Linked DNA regions of Homo sapiens: region 1 is linked to region 2. The links are contacts of gene promoters, found by promoter capture Hi-C in blood cells and fetal thymus (Javierre and others, 2016). All regions are on one chromosome and are shown on one strand. The core of a region is centred on a gene start or on the middle of the fragment in contact, and the rest is flanking DNA. Distances in the headings are between cores, read along the strand shown. Region 1 holds the start of MRPL22 (mitochondrial ribosomal protein L22). Region 2 holds the start of ITK (IL2 inducible T cell kinase).

Region 1 (6,701 bases), core at 1,652-4,151, 2.2 Mb before region 2:
ACTCATTCTTGAAGGTCAACCAGATTAGTAGGGATTAGGACAGCATACATCATATTTGAACTATTTGCTCTTTAAAAGAGATTTTAGGCTAGGTTTCGTGGCTCATACCTCTAATCCTAGCACTTTGGGAGGCCGAGGAGGGCAGATTGCTTGAGCCCAGGAATTCGAGATCAGCCTGGGCAATTTGGGGAAACTCCTTATCTATAAAAAATACAAAAATTAGCCGGGCGTGGTGATGTGCGCCTGTAGTCACAGCTACTTGGGAGGCTGAGGTAAGAGGGTGGCTTGAGCCCGGGGTCGAGGCTGCAGTGAGACTAGGTCATTGCTACCACACTCCAGCCTAAGCGAGAGAGAGACCCTGTTTCAATAAAATGAAATAAAATAGCTTTCACACTATTTCAACTGATCTTTACAACAAGCTTGTGCCCTAAGGTTAGTCATTTCTGATAAGAAAACTGAGGACCACCGGATTAGGTGGCTTGTTCACGGATTCTGTTCCCCTACTCCTTTCTAGTTTGTGAGTTGGGACTTTAGTTTTTCTGAATCCAGGTGAATTTTCGGAAGCCCACGTGCTTTCGGCCTTTATTAATTAATTCATTCCCAAGCCAGGTTCGCCTGACCACACCTCGAGCGCCGGCCCAGTGCTTGCGATCTTCGTGACGGCACCTGGGGTGTAAGTACTGCTTGTGGGAGAGCCCCACAGGAAATCCAGAGTATTGCGCATGCGTGCTGTCCAGAAGGCGCTTGAACTCGGCGGCTTCCGTAGCGGGAGGGCGAAAGATGGCGGCGGCAGTACTGGGACAGTTGGGTAAGGATTTCTTAGTGGTTAAGCGACAGAAGGGAGTCGAGATGGAATCTGAGTTGACGGCTTGTGTTGATGTTGCAGGTGCGTTATGGATACATAACCTGAGGAGCCGGGGGAAGCTGGCCTTGGGGTGAGTCTCTCGCTTCGGAGTTTCGGAAGGGCCCAAGGCATCTTTAGTATTCTGCCAGTTGGTAACTGAGCGCCTCCGTGCCTAACTGTGTTTTAGGCTCTGGGGTTACTGAGGCGAATGAGACAGCCCGAGTCTCTGCTTTGTCACTCTATTTTTTCTCCACCTTATTGCATAAACTGTACAGGGATCAGGATTACCCATAACCCAAGGGCGATTGTAAATGCGATTTCCGAACGTCTACTGTGATCTTTCTGGACAAGGTTAGACTATTCCATCTCCATATGGAAGCGTCCAACTTTTCAAGTTACCTCTCTGATTACTTGCTTACATGGGCAGGGACCGTGTTGTGGACAACTCTGCTTTACGTCGTACCTGACATTGTGTTTAGCGGTTTATATGCTTTAACTCACTCTCATAACATTCTACGAGTAGGTTCTGCTATACCCGTTTTTCAGACAAGGAAATTGAAGTCCCCAAACGTAAAATAACTTGCCTAAGGCCACTCAGTTGTAGGAAATTTTGAAGCTTTATACCAGAGCATTCTGTAGCCTTAGGACAAAAGCATTCATTAAAGGTTAGGGTAAGTAGTCGCTGTATTTCTCCCCAAAATAAAAAATCGGTATTTGAAAATTGATAATCTGATTGTAAATTTTCTGGTCTGTCCATTTGTTAGCATTGATTTTGGTTTAGTTCATAGGCTTTGCAGACAGATGAGTTGTATATGAATCCATTTTTTAACTGTGATCTTGGAAAAGTTACTTATTCTTAATAAGCTTCAGTTATCACTTTTATGATATGAGCGTTATGTTAGTACCTATCTCTTAGGATTTAAAAAATTTTTTAATTTTTATTTATTTATTTTTTTAGATGAAGTGTTGCTATGTTGCCCATGCTGGTCTCAAACTTAAGGGCTGAAACAATTCTCTTGCCTCAGCCTCCTGAAGTACTGGGATTACAGGCACATGCCATCTATGTAGCTCTAGTAGATTTTAAAAAGGAAATTCAAACAAGATAATGCATATGAAGTATTTAGTATGTTTATGGCATGTGATAATCCCACTCTGAATTCTAGTTGCCATTAATGTTTTTATTATTATAAATTATTACTGAGTTCCCAATTATATTTAACCCTTTTCTAAGTTTTTGGGTCCGAGGGGGATAAAGAGGTGGGCTAAAGAAGAAAATAGGAAGTAGTAGCTCTTAGGATTTGTCTGTACTCTTCTTAGATAATCTTCTATCACTCTTCCCCCAACCATGCTGATTTACTTACTTTTTCTGAATATACTTTGCACTTACTTGCTTCTTGGCTTTTCCTACTATGCCCTCACATCTTGTCTATAACAGCAGTCCTACCCATTATTCAAACCTCTGTTCAGATGTTTTCCCTTCAGGAAGTTTTCACTGGTTTCTCTAAAACGGAAAGAAATTAGTTTTTCCTTCCTTTTAGCATGTGTGCCTTCTATGATGACTTCATGTATATGTGTATGTGCCCTTTACTAGCTTGTGTATCTTGGAGAAGTAGGGACATTTATTTATTGTTGTACCTCCAGCATAAGGTCTTACACAGGCAAGTATTTTGATGTTGATTTGAATTGTCTTGCACCAACTTGTATTAAGAAGCTCTGAGCAAGAAACTTAAGCAGTTTGCCTTTAGTCTTTTCCTCTATGTCATGATACAAGAGTGTTTGATTTTGCTAGATAATCTCTAAGGCTATTTGCAATTCTGAAGTTATTACATAATTTTGTGAATCCTTATTTTGGATTTTCTAGTGGGGAAAATGACCATAAGAAAACTAAGTAGAAAGGTATAAATAATGTTCATGATAACCATGTAAAATTTTAGCATATAATCTGATTCAGTGATGAGAAACTTTTTTTTCCTTTTTTTTTTGGAGACACGGTCTCGCTCTGTGCCTAGGCTGAAGTGCAGTGCTGTGATCATAGCTCACTGCAGCCTCAAACTCCCGGGCTCCCACCTCAGCTTCCTAAGTAGCTAGAACTACAGGTGCATGCCATCACACCTGGCTAATTTTTAGGGTCTTGCTGTGTTGCTCAGGCTGGTCTCTAACTCCTGGGCTCAAGTGATCCTCCTGCCTTGGCCTGGAGGGATTACAGGCATGAGCCGCCAGGAAACTTAATTGCATATAGGCCCCAGACTAGAAATAAATAAACTAAGGGAAGTTGTCTATGTAAAATGAGAGTGGGAGGGCCTGTGGTGGTCAGTAGAGTGTATTCCTCATCTAAAAACATTGAATTAGGTTAAGAAAACTGCTGCTGACCAAATAAAACATTTCTGCAGGATATATATATATATACACACATATATGCACATATATACATATATACACATATATATACATATATACACATACATACATGTATATACACACACATATATATATAGATATTAAAATTTTTTTTTTTTTAAAGACAGCGTTTTGCTGTGTCACCCAGGCTGGAGTGCGGTATCATGATCATAGCTCACTGCAGCCTCGATTCAAGCCATCTTCCCAACTCAGCCTCCCAAGCAGCTGGGATCACAGGCGTGCACTACTACACCTGACTTTTTTTTGAGTTTTAGTAGAGACAAAGTCCTGTTATATTGCCCGGCTGGTCTGAAACTCCTGGGCTTAAGTAATCTCCCACCTCAGTCTCCCAAAGTGCTGGGATTACTCTGTAGGCTATATTTGTTAGCTGACTGACAGTTTTCAGTTTTTGAATTCCAAGTCTCCTATTTTACTGATGCATACATTTGAGAAGTTTTGTGACTTACTGAAGGTTACACAGTTAAATGTCAAAGTGAGGATCTAAACAAAATATTTTCTGGGACTACAGGTGCAGGCCGCCATACCTGGCTAAGTTTTGTATTTTTAGTAGAGATGGGGTTTCACCATGTTGGCCAAGCTGGTCTCAAACTCCTAGGCTCAAACGATCCGCCCGCTTTGGCCTCCCAAAGTGCTGGGATTACAGGCATGAGCCACCACGCCCAGCCAAAAAAATATTTTTTTTTAGGAGACAGAGTCTCACTATGTTGTACAGGCTGGTCTCGCACTCTTGGGCTCAAGTGATCTTCCCACCTCAGGCTCCCGAGTCTCTGGGATTACAGACGTGAGCCACCAAGCCTGTCTGTACCACCCTTTAGATGGGGGCATATCCTCTTAAGCTTTCCTCAGTTTCCAACCATGTGTAAAATTTTGGCATAGTTATTTACACTCAGTCCTCTTACCTTACCTGTCTCTGTATTCTTTCATTGATTCTACAAATATGTATTTAGTGCCTGCTCTGAGCTGGGAACTATTCTAGCACTGAGGATTTTGCAGGGAACAGGAACAGACAATAATCCCTTGCCATTGTGGGGTGTACAATATAGTAAGGGGGGCAAATAAGCAAAATAAGTAAAATATAGAGTATATTAGATAGTGACATCTGCTTATGAGAAAATAAAGCAGAGATTGAGAATAAGAAGTATGTGTGTTTGAGAGAGGAACTTGTAGTTTTAGATAGGGAAGGCCTCACTAAAAGATAATCTTTGAGTAAAGATTTGAAGGAAATGAGGAAGCATGCTGTGCTAACATCTGAACAAACAGCATTCTGTGCAGATAGAATAGTAAGTGCAACAGCTCCAAGGAACCATATCTGGTGTCAGGAACAATGACAAAAAGGAGAGGGATAGTGATAGGAGATGAGGTCAGAGAGGAAGGGGCAGTCATAAATCATATAGAGCCTTATTATTTTTTGTAAATACTTTGGCTTTTATTCTGAGCAAGATGGGAAACTGTTGTAAGGTTTTGAGCATGGAGTTATATGATCTGACTTATGTTTATGAGTGGTTCTTTCTGGCTGCTGTGTTGAGAATAGACTGGGGTGGGGATGGGGAGCAAGGATGGAAGCAGAGACCGTTGGCTATTTCAGGTATGAGATCATGGTGGCTTGGATTAGGGTGGCCGTGAAGGTAAGTGAATGGTTGGATTCTGGCAGTATGTTAACCACACCTGACAGATCTTGTTGATGCATTGGATGGGAGGTGTGAGAAAGAAGGGTGACACCAAAGTTTATGACCTGAGCAACTGGAAGGGTAGAGTTAACCACTTACTGAGCTAGGAAGACTTCCAGAGGAGCAGGTTTGGGGAGAATATTAGTAGGTCACTTTTGGGTTTGTTAAATCTGAGCTGTTGTAAGCATCCAAGTAGAGATACGAGTAGGCAATTGGGTATATGAGTTTATAGAGTTCAGGGAACGGATGTACATTTGGGAGTCATCAATGCATGGATAATGTTTAAAGCTGCAAAGCTGGTTGACTTCACCAAGGGAGTGAGTGTAGATAGAAAGAGTCCGAGGATTGATTCCTGCCTAAGGCAGCCAATATTACAGACCAGGGAGGGAGACAAGGAAACAACAAAGGAGACTGTGGGGGAGTGGCCAGAGAGGGGAGAAGAAAACCCCAAGTGTCCTGGAACCCAATTAAAGAAAGTGTCTCAAGGAAGAGTGAGTGACCAGAGATACTTAGGTCACTCTCAGATGAGGACTGATAATTAGAATTAGAATTTGTCTGTATTTTCTGTTTTAAGGTTGCTTCATTTTGTTTTAATTGAGTGTTATTCCAGCAATTGGCCAGGAGAGGGCACATAGGAACTTTTGATTTGATATTCTGTGCTTCTAAATTAAGAACCCCATTTGGAATAATACTTTAATTTAATTTGATTATAGTAGTTTGGTCTTTGCTTGATAATTCAGTTCATGAATTATTTGAGTCCTGAAAGTATTATAAGAATTCAGAAAGCTTTGACATTATTAATTCATAGTATGTTTAATTTATGAAGCAACATATTTAATTCACCAAATATGTATTGAAGATTTGAAGAGCGCAAGGTACTGTGCTAGGCGGGTACAGCAGGTATGGGCCTGACTCAAGAAATCTTTCAGATTGGTTTGTAGCAAAGGGGTTCATGTTTCTGTCATGCTGTTGGTGATGAGATTAGAGATAGAATTAAGGTTAGGAGAGGCCTTATAGATGATGTAGTCTAATTCCTCTTTTCACAGACAAAGAAACCAAGGTCCAAAGAGGTGACAAACATAGTGTACCCTACTCGCTAATTACAACTACATAGAACCATAAACGTTTATGATTATAAACTTGAGAAAAAACTTTGAAATTGTGTATTTAAAGCTTACAGTTCACAGGACTTATTTGGGGGCTGGGGACAGGAGAGATTAACTGTTCAAAGGGCCTAACTTTGTTTTATTTTTTATGCCCTTAAAAAAAGAAACACGGGTGTGGTGGCTCACACCTGTAATCCTAGCACTTTGGGAGGCTGAGATGGGTGGATCACCTGAGGTCAGGAGTTCAAGACCAGCCTGGCCAACATGGTGAAACCCCGTCTCTACTAAAAATACAAAAATTAGCCAGGTGTGGGGTGCGGTGGTGCGTCCCTGTAATCCCAGCTACTTGGGAGGCTGAGGCAGGAGAATCGTTTGAATCCAGGAGGCGGAGGTTGCAGTGAGCTGAGATCGCACCATTGCATTCCAGCCTGGGTGACAAGAGTGAAACTCTGTCTCAAAATAAAATAAACAAAACAGAGGCAAGGCCTTGCTATGTTGCCCAGGCTGGTCTTGAACTCCTGGCCTCAAACAGTCCTCCTATCGTGGCCTCCCAAAGTGCTGGTATTGCAGGCGTGAGCCACCATACTTGGCCAAAGGGCCTAATTTAAAAATAACACTAGCCATCAGTGTTTATCATGGGCTAGACATTGTAGGATGCACTAAATT
Region 2 (6,498 bases), core at 2,759-5,258:
GTTTTGAGACAGAGTTTTGCTCTTGTCACCCAGGCTGGAATGCAGTGGTTCAATCAGCTCACTGCAACCTCCGCCTCCTGGGTTTAAAGCTATTCTCCTGCCTCAGTATCCCAAGTAGCTGGGACTACAGCCACCTGCCACCATGCCCAGCTAATTTTTGTATTTTCAGTAGAGACGGGGTTTCACCATGTTGGCCAGGCTGGTCTCAAACTCCTGACCTCAGGTGATCCACCCGCCTCGGCCTCCCAAAGTGCTGAGATTACAGACGTGAGCCACCGCGCCCAGCCCCTTTTTCTTTGCTTAACTTTTTATTATGGAAATTTTCAAACGTGCATCGGTGCAAGGAGAGTAGAATAATGATGTACCCATTAGCCAGCTTTAGCAATTATCAAGTCATGGTCAAACAGTTTTCATCCCTTCCCCTACCAATTTCTCCCCCTCCACTGGATTATGATGAAGCAAATCATAAACATTTTATTGTTTTATCAATAATTCAGTGTATGTTTCTATACAAAATAAGGACTATTTTAACATGATAATAGTGCCATTATTACATCTTTTTTTTTTTTTTTTTTGAGATGGTGTCTTGCTCTGTTGCTCAGGCTGGAGTGCAGTGGTACCATCTCAGCTCACTGCAACCTCCGCCCTCCAGGTTCAAGCGATTCTCCTGCCTCAGTCTCCCAAGTAGCTGGAATTACAGGCACACAGCACGACACTCCACTGACTTTTGTATTTTTAGTAGAGACAGGATTTCACCATGTTGGCCAGGCTGGTCTCGAACTCCTGACCTCACGTGATCCGCCCACCTTAGCCTCCCAAAGTGCTGGGATTATAGGTGTGAGCCACCACACCCAGCCCATTATTACATCTTAAAAAATAACAAGTTTCTCAGTATTATCAAACATCTCTTTAACATTCAAATTTGTCTAATTGTCTCATAACGTCTTTATACAGTTGATTTGCTTAACTCTTAATCCAAAGTCCAAACATGCTCATATGTCTCTTAAAGTCTCTTTTAATCTAAGGGTTCCCCCTTTGATTTATTTGTTGTTTTGTTTTGCTTTTGTTTTTTGAGACAGAGTCTGGCTCTGTTACCCAGGCTGGAGTACAGTGCTGCAATCCCAGCTCACTGCAACCTCCACCCACTGGGCTCAAGTGATCCTCCCACTTCAGCCTCCCGAGTAGGCGGGACTACAGGTGTGTGCCACCATGCCTGGCTAATTTTTTGTAGAAAAAGGGTTTCACCATGTTGTTCAGGCTGGTCTTAAGCTCCTGGGCTCAAGCAATCCACCCCCTTGACCTCCCAAAGTGCTGGGCTTACAGGCATGAGCCACCGTGCCCTGCCCTCTATGACTTATTTGTTACTGATACTGAGTCATTTGTCCTTAGCATGTTTTGTATTCTGGACTCATCCAATTGCATCTCCACAGTGTCATTTGTCAGGTTCGTTTATCTCTTGTATTTCCTGTAAACTCGAATTTATATCTCGAAGTTTGATTAGATTTGTGTTTGATTTTGTTTTCTCTTGGCAAGACTCCCGAGTTGCCAGTTTTGTGTACTTCCTCTTGCTTCACCTCAGGAGACATACAATGTCTGGTTGTCCTTCTTTTAAGATTAATCAGTGTGTTACAGTGTTGTCAGCTTCATATGACAGTTATACATTTTCCTATTGGCTTTTTGCGTAATAATTTTAACAGCCATTGATGATCATTGCCTACATTTATTATTTCATTGGCATTGCAAAACGATAGTATTCTGTCACTCCTTCATTGATTAGTTTCTTGGAAAAAAAGAACTTCCTCATTAAATACTTGATCACTGAATTGAAAGATAATTCTTCAAGAAAAGCAAGCAATATGTTTTATTTTTTTCCTTTGTTTCCAGTTTTCAGAAAAACAAGTTGGTTCTTCAGCATCCTCCAAAAGTGATCAAAAGGTTGGGATGCTTTTTTCAATTCTCTTTTGAACTCATTGTTTTAACATTTTTGCTGTTCTTCAATTCATGGCAATTATTATTCCTTTTGATACTCAAATTGTTCCATCTTTGGCAAGTGGGAACTCCTTGAATTTGGCTCCTATGAAGTGAACTTTTTAAAACCAAAACAAACAAAGGGACTATTTGTTTTTGTTTATGTTTTCCTTAAAGTGAGAAAAAAATATTGAGCCTCCTAAGTTTGCATTTAAAAGTTGGCAAAGATGAGTCTCAGTTAGTGGGTTTGATGGCTCTATGAGAAAGAGAATAAAATTACTTACGATGACACTCCATGTAGACTGAGCAAACGAAAGACTCCTAAGTATTGCAACAGCTACTGATGATATTTTGTTTTCCCGGATGAGAACACTTTGTGAAGTCTATAACTCTTTTCATCTGAACCAAGCAGGTGTAAAATGTACTTTCCTCAGAGGAGTTTGTAGTCTAGTTTGAGAAGATAGCACTGTATTATCTAGGTTTGCTGGTAGTGACAGAAACCTCAAAATAACTGAGACTTAGAAAATAGATATTAAAAAATGTAATCCAGGGCTGGCATGGAAGATCCATGGTCACCAGGGTCCCAGGCTCTTTCTATCTTATACTCCATTGTCCTCAACATTCAATTTCCACCTCATGATACTAGATAGCTGCTTCAGCTCCAACTGTTACCTCAATATTCTAGTCACAAGGCAGGAGGAAAAGGGAAAGAAAAGGGGATGACAGATCCCACTAAGGAAATTTCCTAGAAGTTGTGCACACGACTTCTGCTACATTCAGTTGACCAGAAGACAGTCATACAACTACACCTAGCTACAAGGGAGGCTAAAATTTGTAGTCTTTATTCTTGCTGGCCAGATGCCCAGATAACTGTCAGGGATTCTGTTACTCTAGTAAGAAGGAGAGAGTAGCTATTTGGGAATAGTAGCAATCCCTACCTCAAGCCCATACTCAGAAAAAAAAAATACTATCTTGTTTGGGCAGTGTATTTCCACACATATGTCTTAAGAATCTCAGAATGGGGGAGGTAATTTAAAATATACCAGTACCGTACCCTCCTGGGTGTCTTGATTATGCTGGGGCATCCAGTATATGAAATAAAATTAGGCTGTTGTCTGGTAATTTACATTTAAAAATAAACATTGGAGAATTTCACTCCTATACAGCAATAATTATTATTTCATTTATTATTTATCCCTACCCACTACATGCAATATCTGCTTACACTAAAATCTCTTGATTATTAACATAGTAGAGGTAACTGTCACACATTATACTTCAACTATGTACTAACTCTAAGGTGACATGTATGACTAGCACCTACCATTCATAAGATGTATGGGATTCAGTCCTCCAAAGGACCCTCACAAGGAAGCTAAGGATCAGAGAAGTCATGGCTTGCTCAAAGAGAAACAGCATAGTAAGTGACAGAGCTGGGAATCCAACACAAGTTTGTCTGTTTTCAAAGCCCACATATACTTTGTTTATTATGCCATTCTGAAGGATTCACTTATTTTTCACTCTTCCACAAAACGTCAGGACAGAAAGGCAGTCATCTATATGTAGCATTGAGAAATTTCTATGGGCTTTAATTTAAATCTTAAAAACTAATAAACTTCAGCAACATATTTCTTCACTTTAATGTGTGAGGGTTTTGTGCTCATTACCTCTTTTAATTGTCCAACCCAATTTGGTGATGATCCATTCAACAAATTTTTCTTGAACATCTGTTTTATGTGTCAGGTACTGTGATGGTTGCTGAGTATATCATGGTAAGCAAAACCACACATTGTCCTTACTCCTTGTGCTACATGATTTAACTGCTGGATGGATTAAACCAGGAACTATAAAGATTAAACTGTAATCCTTACCACAATTTTGAGTTTACAGTTTTTCAAATATCATTTCAAGCCATTAGCAAAGGCTGTATGTATTTTTTACATATGCCTCCTCGTTTTGTGAATTTTGAAAGGATGTGGTTTCGGCCTTTGACATCAGAGGAGAAGCTCAGCTATGTTGGCTGAACGTTGATAGAAAGATAACGTTGAAGGCAAGTTGCCCTTGAGCAGCTCTCTGAAGATCAACTGCCTCCACATTGCATTCTTTGCCCCAAAACTCTTTCCTTTGGTTGTGCTAAGAGGTGATGCCCAAGGTGCACCACCTTTCAAGAACTGGATCATGAACAACTTTATCCTCCTGGAAGAACAGCTCATCAAGAAATCCCAACAAAAGAGAAGAACTTCTCCCTCGAACTTTAAAGTCCGCTTCTTTGTGTTAACCAAAGCCAGCCTGGCATACTTTGAAGATCGTCATGGGGTATGTGAGCAGTTTCATTTGTCTTTTTTCGCATAGCATTTTATGTTTGGACTGGGCTAATGCAAAAATATATACATAGCATAAAATAGAGCACAGGAAACACAAACATGCTTATTGTAACAACATAAAAAGTACAGTAAAAGTAATCAGAGGAGAATGCAGAGAGCAGTCAAGAGGTGAAATGGTGGTGCTAGGTGATTTCAGTTCTAAAAACTGTAAATTTAACATTCATCAGCTTTTTCCCCCTGCAAGGTTATGTTTGGTTTTTAAATTATGAATAACATTTTAGGTAGCAAGTATTATGATTCGATAAAACTTGAACTTTCTATGAAACATACTAAATTTAATGAAACATACTAAATTTAATGAAACATAGATTAATACAACACTAGCATTCAATGGGATGATCTACCCCAGCTTTCTTATTTTTTAGTGGAAGAAACTGGTGTTTAGAATGGTTAAGTTTTGGGTTCAGTGTTAACGTTTTCATGAATAACTCTGTTTGTCTCAATACTCGTCGCTAGCCTGATCTTGAAATAAGATTTCCCAGGCATTTAATTATCTAAAAGTTGTAAGGCACAATGGCAAACCTCTTCATCTCTTGATAGACTTCTTAGGACACCAGGGTTATTAAGAACAAAGTTTCTGCAGTGCAGACCAGCGGTTCTTACCCAGAAGGAGTATGGCTGCTTTGCTAGGTCAGTCTATCTCTTTATCTAAAAATAGTCTTGTGCTTCTTAACATCACTAATAACAAAAGCAACAGGAATAATCCTAATAATGTAGTTTGGTAGAAAAAGCATTGGACAAAGGGTCAGGAGACCAAACTCTACTTCTCAGTAGGTGATCCAGTCTGGGCAAATGTCTACCTCCTGTTTCAGGTTCTTTCTTCATAAAATGAAAAAACTGGAAATAACAACCTTCAAGATCCCTTTCTTCTTCAAAACTTCTTTGCTTTATGCAGTGGCTCTTGTTTAGCCCTATGCTGCAATTTTTCAAAGCATGTTTGATTTCTTACTGTATGGTTATATTATTTTTACATCATTAGTGGGGTAGGACAAGGATTATCACTTATATTTTACTGAAGGGAAAATAATATTAGGTGCCTGATGGTCACTTAGAAACAAAAGTGCTCCAGTTCTTTGTTGGAGTCTGACTTAGTAGGTGGTGGCATGAGTTTGGGATTCTTTGGTGTGCCAGGGTTTAAAGCACTTCATGAGATGGAGCTCCAGAGGAGGTCAGGCTGGGTATAGAGCCTATGGATGCCTCACTTTTTAAAGTTGCAGGTGTTGCATGTCTTTTGTGAATTAAAAAAATACAGAAAACAAAAAAGTTGCAGGCGAAATAGCTCTGCCTCTTTAGAAGTGAAAAGAATTGCTTGTCTTATTATCAGACTCTTACTGATAACAATTTACCAGTCAATCAGAAAACACATGGAATTACGTGCAAGTCCTCTTTGCTAGGTGGCCAGGAGCCCAGTTTGTGAACTTGGGGGATTTATCATGTAGAGCTAATAAATCGCATGGCATTACTCAATGCTTTTTTGTGAATGGAACATTTAAAGTTTTTGTTTCATATTGAAAGAACAGTCATGTACCTTTAAATATTTTTTTCAAAGTCCATTTTGCAGTTTTCACCAGTTCGTTTTTCTGATTCAACATAGTATCATCTCATTTAGTTAGTATTAATAATTCCTTAGCCCAACTGCTATTTGTGAACTGATTGTGAATTCAGCTCAATATTATTTGTAAGTAATCACAAAACCAGATGGCCTTAATTCAGAATATTATTGGTCATAATTTGCATGTAGACAAGGTTGTAAAATCACCCTACTTCTTTATCTGAGCATTATGGAAAATTTCAAGACAATTACTTCATTCTGGGGAGCCCTAGGCTACAGTTTCTAATTCTTCCATGTGAGATATAGAGAATACATGTCCAAACATCAAATTTCTTGTTTTCTAATGCCTTTTTTACTCTTATAAATAACATTTTAAAAGTATTTCTTTAATTATTTAATTATTATAGAAGTTTATTAATTAGAAATTTATCCAAGTTCCCTGAAAAAGGTAATATATGTGAATTATTATTGTTCATGTCTTAGGTATACTACATGGTTTCAGGCCACCAATTTGCACACAAGGCTGCATTAATATTACTCATAAGTAAATAACATTACACTTATGGGAAGAACATTTTCATTTTTAAATTAAAG

What was found. Contacts are between HindIII fragments. The CHiCAGO score rates a contact against its expected background, and 5 or more counts as called.
Region 1: a fragment that was not itself captured here is called in contact with the fragment with the promoter of ITK in region 2 in 2 of 17 cell types (total CD4 T cells and fetal thymus); the score reaches 5.9 in total CD4 T cells.

Annotation. Positions count from the first base shown.
Region 1 is chr5:154,940,331-154,947,031 of GRCh38, forward strand. MRPL22 (mitochondrial ribosomal protein L22) reads left to right here and starts at 743. Exons shown (of 7, transcript NM_014180.4): 1 at 743-808; 2 at 887-935. The coding sequence starts at 781. RefSeq lists an enhancer at 683-842. The HindIII fragment of the contact is 2,390 bases long and covers 1,707-4,096 here.
Region 2 is chr5:157,176,832-157,183,329 of GRCh38, forward strand. ITK (IL2 inducible T cell kinase) reads left to right here and starts at 4,009. Exons shown (of 17, transcript NM_005546.4): 1 at 4,009-4,284. The coding sequence starts at 4,147. The HindIII fragment of the contact is 39,229 bases long and covers 1-6,498 here.